Regions from separate parts of the Homo sapiens genome. Here region 1 is linked to region 2. Evidence: promoter capture Hi-C in human tissues and cell types (Jung and others, 2019). All regions are on one chromosome and are shown on one strand. Each heading gives the region's core, a stretch centred on a gene start or on the middle of the fragment in contact. The rest is flanking DNA. Distances are from core to core; before and after follow the strand shown.

The links. Contacts are between HindIII fragments. The study calls those that stand out against the background at their distance.
Region 1: a fragment that was not itself captured here is called in contact with the fragment with the promoter of RIPK4 in region 2 in 1 of the 25 tissues and cell types used here (H1 embryonic stem cells).

The regions. Positions count from the first base shown.
Region 1 is chr21:41,723,073-41,727,668 of GRCh38, reverse strand. No RefSeq gene overlaps it. Among named protein-coding and RNA genes, the nearest start is that of LINC00112, 8.9 kb to the right of the region's middle. The HindIII fragment of the contact is 6,678 bases long and covers 1-4,596 here.
Region 2 is chr21:41,765,234-41,769,405 of GRCh38, reverse strand. RIPK4 (receptor interacting serine/threonine kinase 4) reads left to right here and starts at 2,354. Exons shown (of 8, transcript NM_020639.3): 1 at 2,354-2,546. The coding sequence starts at 2,365. It overlaps LOC102724800 (a long non-coding RNA gene), which reads right to left and starts at 2,239. Exons shown (of 5, transcript XR_937745.3): 1 at 2,172-2,239; 2 at 1,389-1,547; 3 at 23-792. RefSeq lists an enhancer at 443-737. The HindIII fragment of the contact is 3,569 bases long and covers 1-3,362 here.

The DNA.
Region 1 (4,596 bases), core at 1,249-3,748, 42 kb after region 2:
ATTTTTCCTTCATTTCTCACAGCCAGCGCAGCCTGTTGCGACCTGCCACCGGAAATCATCACTGCGACCTACTTGAACAGGCCTCCCTGGGGTGGTGGCGGCCTCCCCAATGGGCGACCTCCCTGCGGGCCTCCCCTCCCCTTACAGCTCAGGGCCAGGGGTTGTGCTGTCCCACCACCCACTGGGAGGGTTAGGACATGACAGCCAGGGGACAACTGGTCTAGTCTGTGTTTGTTAAAACGGAGGCCACGGTCATCTCTTCCTAGGACATGGACTAGCTCAGGCCCCAGGAAAGGCCGAGAGTCCAGCCTTGTATGCATCCCCGCCAGGGGAGACAGCAGCAGTGGGAGCCAGGCCTGAATAGCCCGTGGGTACCAAGTGAGGGGCCTGGGGCTCCACTTCTCCCAGTGCAGGGACAGCAGGCTGGTGGCCAGAGGTGCAAGCCTCAGTGTCAATGAGATCTGGGCCTGAGTCCCGGTCTGCCCCTCGGGGATCAGGGGTGAGTCATGCCTCCGCAGTGCTCAGCACACAGGACTCTCCGTCAATCCACGCCAGCGCCCATTTCCCCAGACCTGCCGGTCCTCTCCTGCCTCTCCTGGAGGTGCCAGGCCCCCGCCTGCCCTGCCCCCTTGCTGGGAACCCTGGAATCTCCCATGGCTCCTCCCCTGGCCCACTTAGCCCAGCCTCGCCACCTTCTAACCTCTTCTACTCCTGCACTTTGTCCTTGCTGCCGGCCTCATCCTGCCATCGGCCTCTGCTCCAGAGCATTTCTTGGGACCCACAACACCGTCCTGAAGTGTCACATCCTCCAGCTGACCTTCAGGTTCCACGACGCCCCGGCAGGGGAGGGTGCACCCTGGCTGCCATGGTCCACCTCTGCTCTTACAAGTCCCTCTTACCCTTCACCAGCCCTGCAGGCCACCTGCTCTCTCCTCCAATAATTGTCCCCAGCCCTGCCATCCAGGCGGAAGCAGTCCCCATTTCTTCAGGTCTGGCAGCATTTTGCCGGGACTTCTCTATGGCACGAATTTCATTCTGCTTTGTGTTGTGGTGTCGAGGAAGGAGAAAGAAGAAGAAGGGGGGGGGAGGAGGAGAGGGAGGAAGAAGAAGAAGGGGAAGAAGAAAGAGGAGGAGGAGGAGGAAGAGGAGGAGGAAGGAGGAGCAGGAAGGAGGAAGAAGAAGAACAAGAGGAGGAGGAGGAGAAAGAAGGAGAGAGGGAGGAGGAAGGAAGGGAAGGGATGAGGAAAGCCAGAGGGAGGACACGTAGAGAACCCGGACTCCCTGCGGGCCCCGCGCCCCCGCGCCGAGCATTTCACAGACCTGACTTTGTTTGGTCCCTACAGCCTCCGCAGCGGCCTGCCTGGCTCTGAGAACAGGGCTCTAAGGCACTCGCCCGTCAGCTCCTGGGAAAGGGAGTCTGTTAGGGTTGCCTCTGCTGAGGGGAGGGCCTCGACCAGGCTGGAGGCAGAGCTTTCCCTGCGGAGGCCAGGCTGGCCTTGCTGCTCCGCACCGCTTCGTGCCGGGGAGGCAGGAGAGGCCCTGGACGTGGCCAGTTTTATGTGGGTTCTTAGGGAACTGACAAAGGCAACTTTAAGCTTTGGGTCCCTTCTAAAGGACACCAGCGTGCCTCATGAGCAAGGCGCTTGGTTAGAAAACAGACCCAGACTGGCTGTGAATCAATTCCGGGGTGCTGGACGCGCGCAGAAGGGAAGTGCTCCAAAGAGACCGACCCGCTGCTCTGGGCACAGCCCCGCACGCCTCCCGACCACAGGCTCCGGCCGCCCTGAGGAGTCGGACTGGGTCAGACCAGCGCAGGCTGACCTCACCCCCCACCCCAGAGCTTGTAGCCTCTCGTCCCTCTTGGGGCTTCCACTCTGTCCCCTGCAGAGTGGGCAGTGGGCACCGTTGCCGGGAGGGACCTCAAGGAGTCGGCTGTGATTCCCCCGCTGCAGGGGTGCTGAGGCTGAGCTGAGGGGGGTGGGGCTGACGCCGGAGGCAAGATGGGGCTCCCAGCAGAGTTAGAAGGGACAGGAATAGTGCTCAGGCTTGGGGCTCTCTGGTGGGGGCACCTGCCCGCCATCACGCTCAGAGGGCGTCTGGCCGCTGCTTTGCCTCGTGCACCGTGTGTAGCTGCGAGCGGCAGGGGAAGACACGGCCAACCTTGTGGCAGAGGGCGGCAGCAACTCCCAAGTTTCATCAGGCGGGGAAAGCTGCCTGCCAGATTCACCAAATAAAAGTACAGGACGAAAATGACTCCAGGACACTCAGTTACCTGTGAATTTCACATAATCAACAAATCATTGTTAGTGTGTGTCCTACTTATGGCATGAGACGTACTTATACTAAAAAGTAGTTCATTAGATATTTAATTCAATGTTTAACTGTTCAATTTTACTAACATTTTATTTAAATTTTCACTACATATATTCATTATATTTTAGCATAGGTATATTTCAAATATTGCATGGGACATACTGATATATATATATTTTATATATATATATTTATATATATTATATATATATATATTTTTTTTTTTTTCTAGAGACAGGGTCTCACTATGTTGCCCAAGATGGTCTCAAACTCCTGGACTCAAGTGATCCTCCCACCTTGGCCTCCCAAAGTGCTGGGATTATAGACATGAGCCATCACGCTCAGCCTTTAAATTTTTTTTAAATATAATTAGCTGAAATTCACATTTAGCTGGGGGCCTTGTATTTTATCTGGCATCTCTACTTATATCGCATTTCCCTAGTAATGCTTGGTTATTAGAAAATAATAAAATTTATTTTTAAATTCTCTGGAATTTGGATTTTCCCTCAATAAGTATATTCCCCAGGTTGAACTGTACCCCACTAGCAGAGAGTTTCCTTCCCTGCCTGACAGAGACAGCGTGCTCTGTCACCTGCAAAGCTGCACACAGCGGGAGGGAACGAGGAGGGATGCTCCTCACAGTGGCAAGTCTCCTGTTGCGTGTTGGTGCACCACTGGCCAGGGACTTAGGGGAGTGCTATGAGGGTCACAGAATCCCAGGAGACCCAGACCTGCATGCAGGGGCTGCAGGCTCCACTGTGAGTGCTGGGCCAGGAGCGAGGGGCCAGGGACAAGGGCACGGAGTTGGGTCAGGGACAAGGGCACGGATTTGGACCTGGTCAAAACCACTCCACAGTGGCCAGGCTCGGGAACCTGGCAGTGCCAAGCCTCTCCCAGCCTCAGTCTTTTCCACAGGATGGAGCGAGGACAGTGCTGGCTGCAGAAGAGTGCTGGGAGGATTGGGCGAGTTTTCGGGTAGACAGTGTGGCACACATCTGGCTGGCAGGACCAGCTCAAGTCCTGTTAGCCATTGGTCAAAGATGTCTGTTTACTGCCCTGAGAGAACTCAGCATTTTCCTATTAATGTGATTAGTCAGCCAGGACTGTCCCACAAGGCAAGAGAAGGATGGGGATCCTCATGAAGGTGGAGGAAACACTGGGGGAGAAGGTACCTAACAGGGCAGGCATCAGCCGTCTCTTTCCCCTAAGGCTCCTGATAGGGTCTGGCTGTGTTCCCACCCAAATCTCATATTGAATTGTAGCTCCCATAATTCCCATGTGTTGTGGGAGGGACCTGGTGGGAGATAATTGAATCACGGGGGCGGTTTCCCCCATACTGTTCTCGTGGTAGTGAATAAGTCTCACGAGATCTGATGGTTTGATAAGGGGAAACCCCTTTCGCTTGGCTCTCATTCTCTCTCTTGCTGCCACCATGTAAGAAGTGCCTTTCGCGTTCTGCCACGATTGTGAGGCCTTCCCAGCCATGGAGAACTGTGAGTCCATTAAACTTCTTTTTCTTTTCTTTTTCTTTCTTTTTTTTTTTTTTTTTGAGATGGACTCTTGATCTGTTGCCAAGGCTAGAGTGCAGTGGCACAATCTCAACTCACTGCAACCTCCACCTCCTGGGCTCAAGCGATTTTCCTGCCTCAACCTCCAGAGTAGCTGGGATTACAGGCATCCACCACCATGCTTAGCTAATTTTTTATTATTATTATTTTTAGTAGAGACAGGGTTTCCCTATGTTGGCCAGGCTAGTCTCAAACTCCTGACCTCACACGATCTTCCCGCCTTGACCTCCGAAAGTTTTACAGGCATGAGCCGCTGCGTCCAGCCAAACCTCATTTTCTTTATAAATGACCCAGTCTTGGGTACGTCTTTATCAGCAGTGTGAAAACGGACGAATACAGACCCCAACCTGCCTGCAGCACTGAGAAGTCCACACAGGGCAGCGAGTATGCTTGGGGTGTGGAGCCGCGAGCCTTCTCACGCTCATCCTACCGAGCCTCTTGAGCAAGGCTTTCAGCTGAGCCTGGTCCTCAGACTTCGAACCTGCCTCTTCACCCTCTCCTACGAAGCAAGGCCCAGATGTGGGAATTCTCACCCCTGCACTCCGATGAGGAGGCTGAGGGTCGGGGAGGCCGCGCACCTTCCTCAGAGCAGAGGCTTCAAGGCGGAGGCCAGGTTCCTACCTGGGCGGTCAGACCCAGAGCCCAGGCTCAGAGCCTCCATGCCTGCAGTTAAGCTGAGGGCAGATCCTATCTTATGGACTTTGGGGTCTTAATG
Region 2 (4,172 bases), core at 1,105-3,604:
TCGTCGTCCCTCCCCTCCTCACCTGCACTGCACTCCCAGGCGGGTCAACAGTCTCTCCGTGGAGCTTCGTGCCCTCGGGGCTTACCTCCTAAAAACCTTCAAGTCTGCACCCCTACTGTGCCTCCGTGGCTGCGCCCTGCTTTCCACCCAGGATCTGTGCTGATTGGTTTGTTTGTAACCACACCGGGCACGTTGTCCATGCAGGCACTTCATGAGGTTAATTAATGTTGTCCCATGAAACCTCAGGACAGCCACCTCCCAACTTGCCCTATTATTCATTTCATCTTTTTCTTTAAATCGTTCCACTTTTCTTTGGCCCTAAAATGTATTTAAAACGAAACTAAATTACTTTTATACTTGGAAATTCTAACCTCACCAGCCTGGGACCAATGACTGTTAACATAAATAGCAGCTGCGCTCCCGGAATCCCAGAGGGTCTGGAACTCGAATTCACAATTCCTGGAAAGGTGTTTGTTTTCGTTTTACCAGTTGTCATGTGAATCGGTAAAGCACTTCAAAGTCCGCAGAGGAGCCGGATACCAAACCAGGTTCCTGCCGCCGAGCCCGTGATCTTTGGACCCGATCTGCTCACAGCTGGGAGCTGGCTCTTTTGGTCTCCAGGGGGCTCTGGTCTTCAGTCCCAGGCACCAGGCACTGAGCTAGCAGCAGACACTCCATAAATATTTGTCAAATGAAGCACACAGATGATTAAATAAATGAAATTGGAGCGTTTTATTACTTGCGTGGTGTGGGCTCTTAGTCACCCCCAGCTGCGGAGCTGTGTGCCGGAGACTGTAGATGGAGAAAGGTACTTTGCTAGAGCTGAGCCCCGGGAACAGGACAGGTGACTCACTTTCAAGTCCATTCATTTTTTTCCCACCAAAATAATAACTATGTTTACTTCCAAGGTATCTTCGTAGATTCAAAACTCCAATTATTTTTTAAAACATTAGTCCAAATGTAAGTTACATTTGTGACAAGCTTAAAACAACTATTTGCCACTCCAGCCTTAAGGAGACCAACTTTAATTTCCGGAGTATGTGGGAAAGGAAGTGGCTCCCTGGTCCCCCCAGGAGGCCCCCCGAGCAAGCATCGTCATGTTGGGATGTGTGAGTTCCCTCCAAAGAGCGGCCGGATGGGAGTGGGGAGGCAGTGGGGAGACGCGGCTCCCCGCTACAGGCTATGAAAGAAGGTCCGCGCCCGTTTGGAAGGGGGAGCCTGGAGACACTAGGTCTGCGGCTTTCAATGCGCTGACTTGGGGCAGCCTCTCTCTTTCCGAGTTACTAACACAAAAACACAGTTAATGTCGTTAAAATACCCTCTCCTTTAGCTCCGCCCTCCTGTCTTCATTATTAATCTCCTGTGGCCAAAAATAAGCCTTCACTCACCGTTGCGTCTCAGGAATGAGTGAGTGTTTTCTGAGGTGTGGACGCGTGCGTGATCTGTGATGCACTTCGGCCTCTAACCCAAATATCCTTCCAAGGCTGGGAATTTTTTTTCCCCATATGTGAAAAAAAAATCTTTCCTTTTCAAACCATCTGTTCTACCTGTAAAAAGAGGCTGTTATTTAGGAAAGGATGAGGGAACTCTTGCATTTGAAATGGACTTTAGATTTGCTGTTGGGTAATTTTTTAAAAAAAGTTACTTTCTGAGAGGAAACTCGTGTAAAAAAGCAAGACGTGAACCTGCAGGGAATTAGACTAACGAGTGAAGAAAGCCAATTTCAAAAAATTAGGCGCTGTATGATTCCTGTATCTAAACATAACATTTCTGAAATAAAACAATTTTAGAAATAGAGGAAAGATTAGTGATGCCAGGGCTCCGGGGTGCGGCTGTAAAATCGCCACAGGAGTGGCCAGGTGGGGGTGGATACGGGAAGGTACACAGATGATTACATTGTGTAAAACTAATACATGCAAAGGAAGACGAGTAAAACGGCAAAACTGAATAAGATCGGTGACTGTATCAAAGTCAATATCCTGGTTGTGAGATTGGACTTTTTTTTTTGGCAAAGTTTTGCAAAGTGGTAACACTGGGGGAAACTAGGCAAAGTGAATGATTTCTTACAACTGCATGTGACTCCGCAATTAAGGAAAAAAAAAAAGCAAAGAAAAGCAGGGCAGCTGATGCGCACGTCGAGACCCGTGAGAAGCGTGAGAAGCTCTGCTCACCCAGGGGAGAGCGCAGTGACCCGCAGCGTCTATTCATCCGTCCGCAGTCACCGGGCGCTGGCAGAGAGGGCGCCCGGGGGGCGGGTAAGTGGGCGGGGCCTGGGGGCGGGACGACCTACGGAAGTGACGTAACAGGGCGGAGCGCGCACCTGGGCACCTGGGCAGCCGCCGCGGCGCTGGCTAGACGTGCGCGATGGAGGGCGACGGCGGGACCCCATGGGCCCTGGCGCTGCTGCGCACCTTCGACGCGGGCGAGTTCACGGGCTGGGAGAAGGTGGGCTCGGGCGGCTTCGGGCAGGTGTACAAGGTGCGCCATGTCCACTGGAAGACCTGGCTGGCCATCAAGTGCTCGCCCAGCCTGCACGTCGACGACAGGTGAGCGGCCCGGGCGGGGCGCTGGGGCGGCTGGGGCCCGGGCTGGGGTCGGGGTCGGGGTGCTCTGGTCCCGGGGTCCTGCCTCTCTCTCCCGAACTCACCCCCGGAGCAGCTTCGGGGGGGAAACCAATTGCCGGCGAGGCCGCGGGGCTCCGACAATGTCCACTCGGCCTGTCCGGGCCGGAGGGGCGCGGGGGCTTTGGCGAGCCCGGGCTCGATCGCGCACGTCGGGGCCGGGTCAGGCGGCTCCTCTGGGGCTCCTCTGGGGCTCCTCGGGGGCCGCGTCTGCCCGGACGTCCTAAGGCGCCCAGTCGTGCTTCCTGACACTCCCCGAGTGGCCCTGGTTTTCGGGGTCTCCAGCTCGCCTTGCGCCTCGGACCCGCGCCCTTGGGAGGCGCGTCCGGCCCGCCCGGGACCCACCGGGGCGCTGCGGTCTGCGCAGGGCTTAGAAAAATTGCCATGTGGGCCTCTGGGCTTTGTGAGTGGAGTTAGCCTCCGTTCGACTTACTTAGTAATTTACGTTGGAACACAAATTGGTGTAAGACTGTAATTATTTCGGTCGGAAGCTTCGGCTTGGCTCGGGCGAGGCTTCCCGGGCGCCCGGCGCTTGCGCGGTGGAGCTCCGGGGCTCGGGCCTGGCAGTGGGGTCCGGCACGGGGCCCGGGGTGTTGATCCGTCCGCCCAGCGCTTCCTCGCCGCACACTCTCGTTTTAGCTGACTTAATTTCGAGACCGACCCGCTAGGGAAGGGCCTTGCATTCAAGTTCTGTGGCCGTGCCATGGGGCCCTCCTGCACCCCAGTTTCCCAGTCCAAAAGTCAGAATGGAACCTGCCTGTACCTACCTAGCAGGAGTGTTCAAGGTAACAAAGACGAATGGGAAGGACGCAGAGCCGCCCGTGTTAAATTCGGTGGGTCGGTTGTCGTCTGTGCATAATTTGAGAGGTAGGGAGAATGTTCTTGAACAGTACCTCTTTGTTGTTGTAGATTTCACTGTTTACAGTTGATTTTGATGGTTCATATGTAAGGCTCAATTTAGCACGTTTTAATTATTTATCCTTTAATGAAGCTTACCTTCTACATGGAAGCTATGCTTGTATTTTACCTAGAGATTCCTTGAACACATACACTCAGAAGCGACACCTTTTTAAAATACCATTTAGCCTTTGCTGCCTGGCAGACCTGGTTTCGAATGCTCGGCTGATTGAGTGATGGGGCCGCTAAGCCCCAGCTTTTCTGCAGAATCGTTGTGATGCCTGTGTCTGGGGTGGCAGTGCGTGCTGCAGCCCCATACCGTGACTGTGACGCCTCTGTGGATGAGAGGCCTGTCCTCTCCCTTTGCATTTTCGTCCTTGGCTAGGAGACTACACAGCAGAGATAGTGGTGGCTTTTTGCCGTAACCCTCAAATCCAGTGTTTCTTGGAAACACCAGTAGAGTGGTGACGAGTGTCATCAAATCACCACTAGTTCAAAGGTGAGATGCTGGCCCAGGCTGTGCACTTTTTCTCCCCTGCCTCAGATTCTGGGAACTTCTCAGGCCAGGAGGGGTGCTGTGGTTATTTTGATGAAATCCAAACCACTTTGAATACCAGCCAGTGGTTAGGTTCTGAAAGGGAACCCTCTCCATAG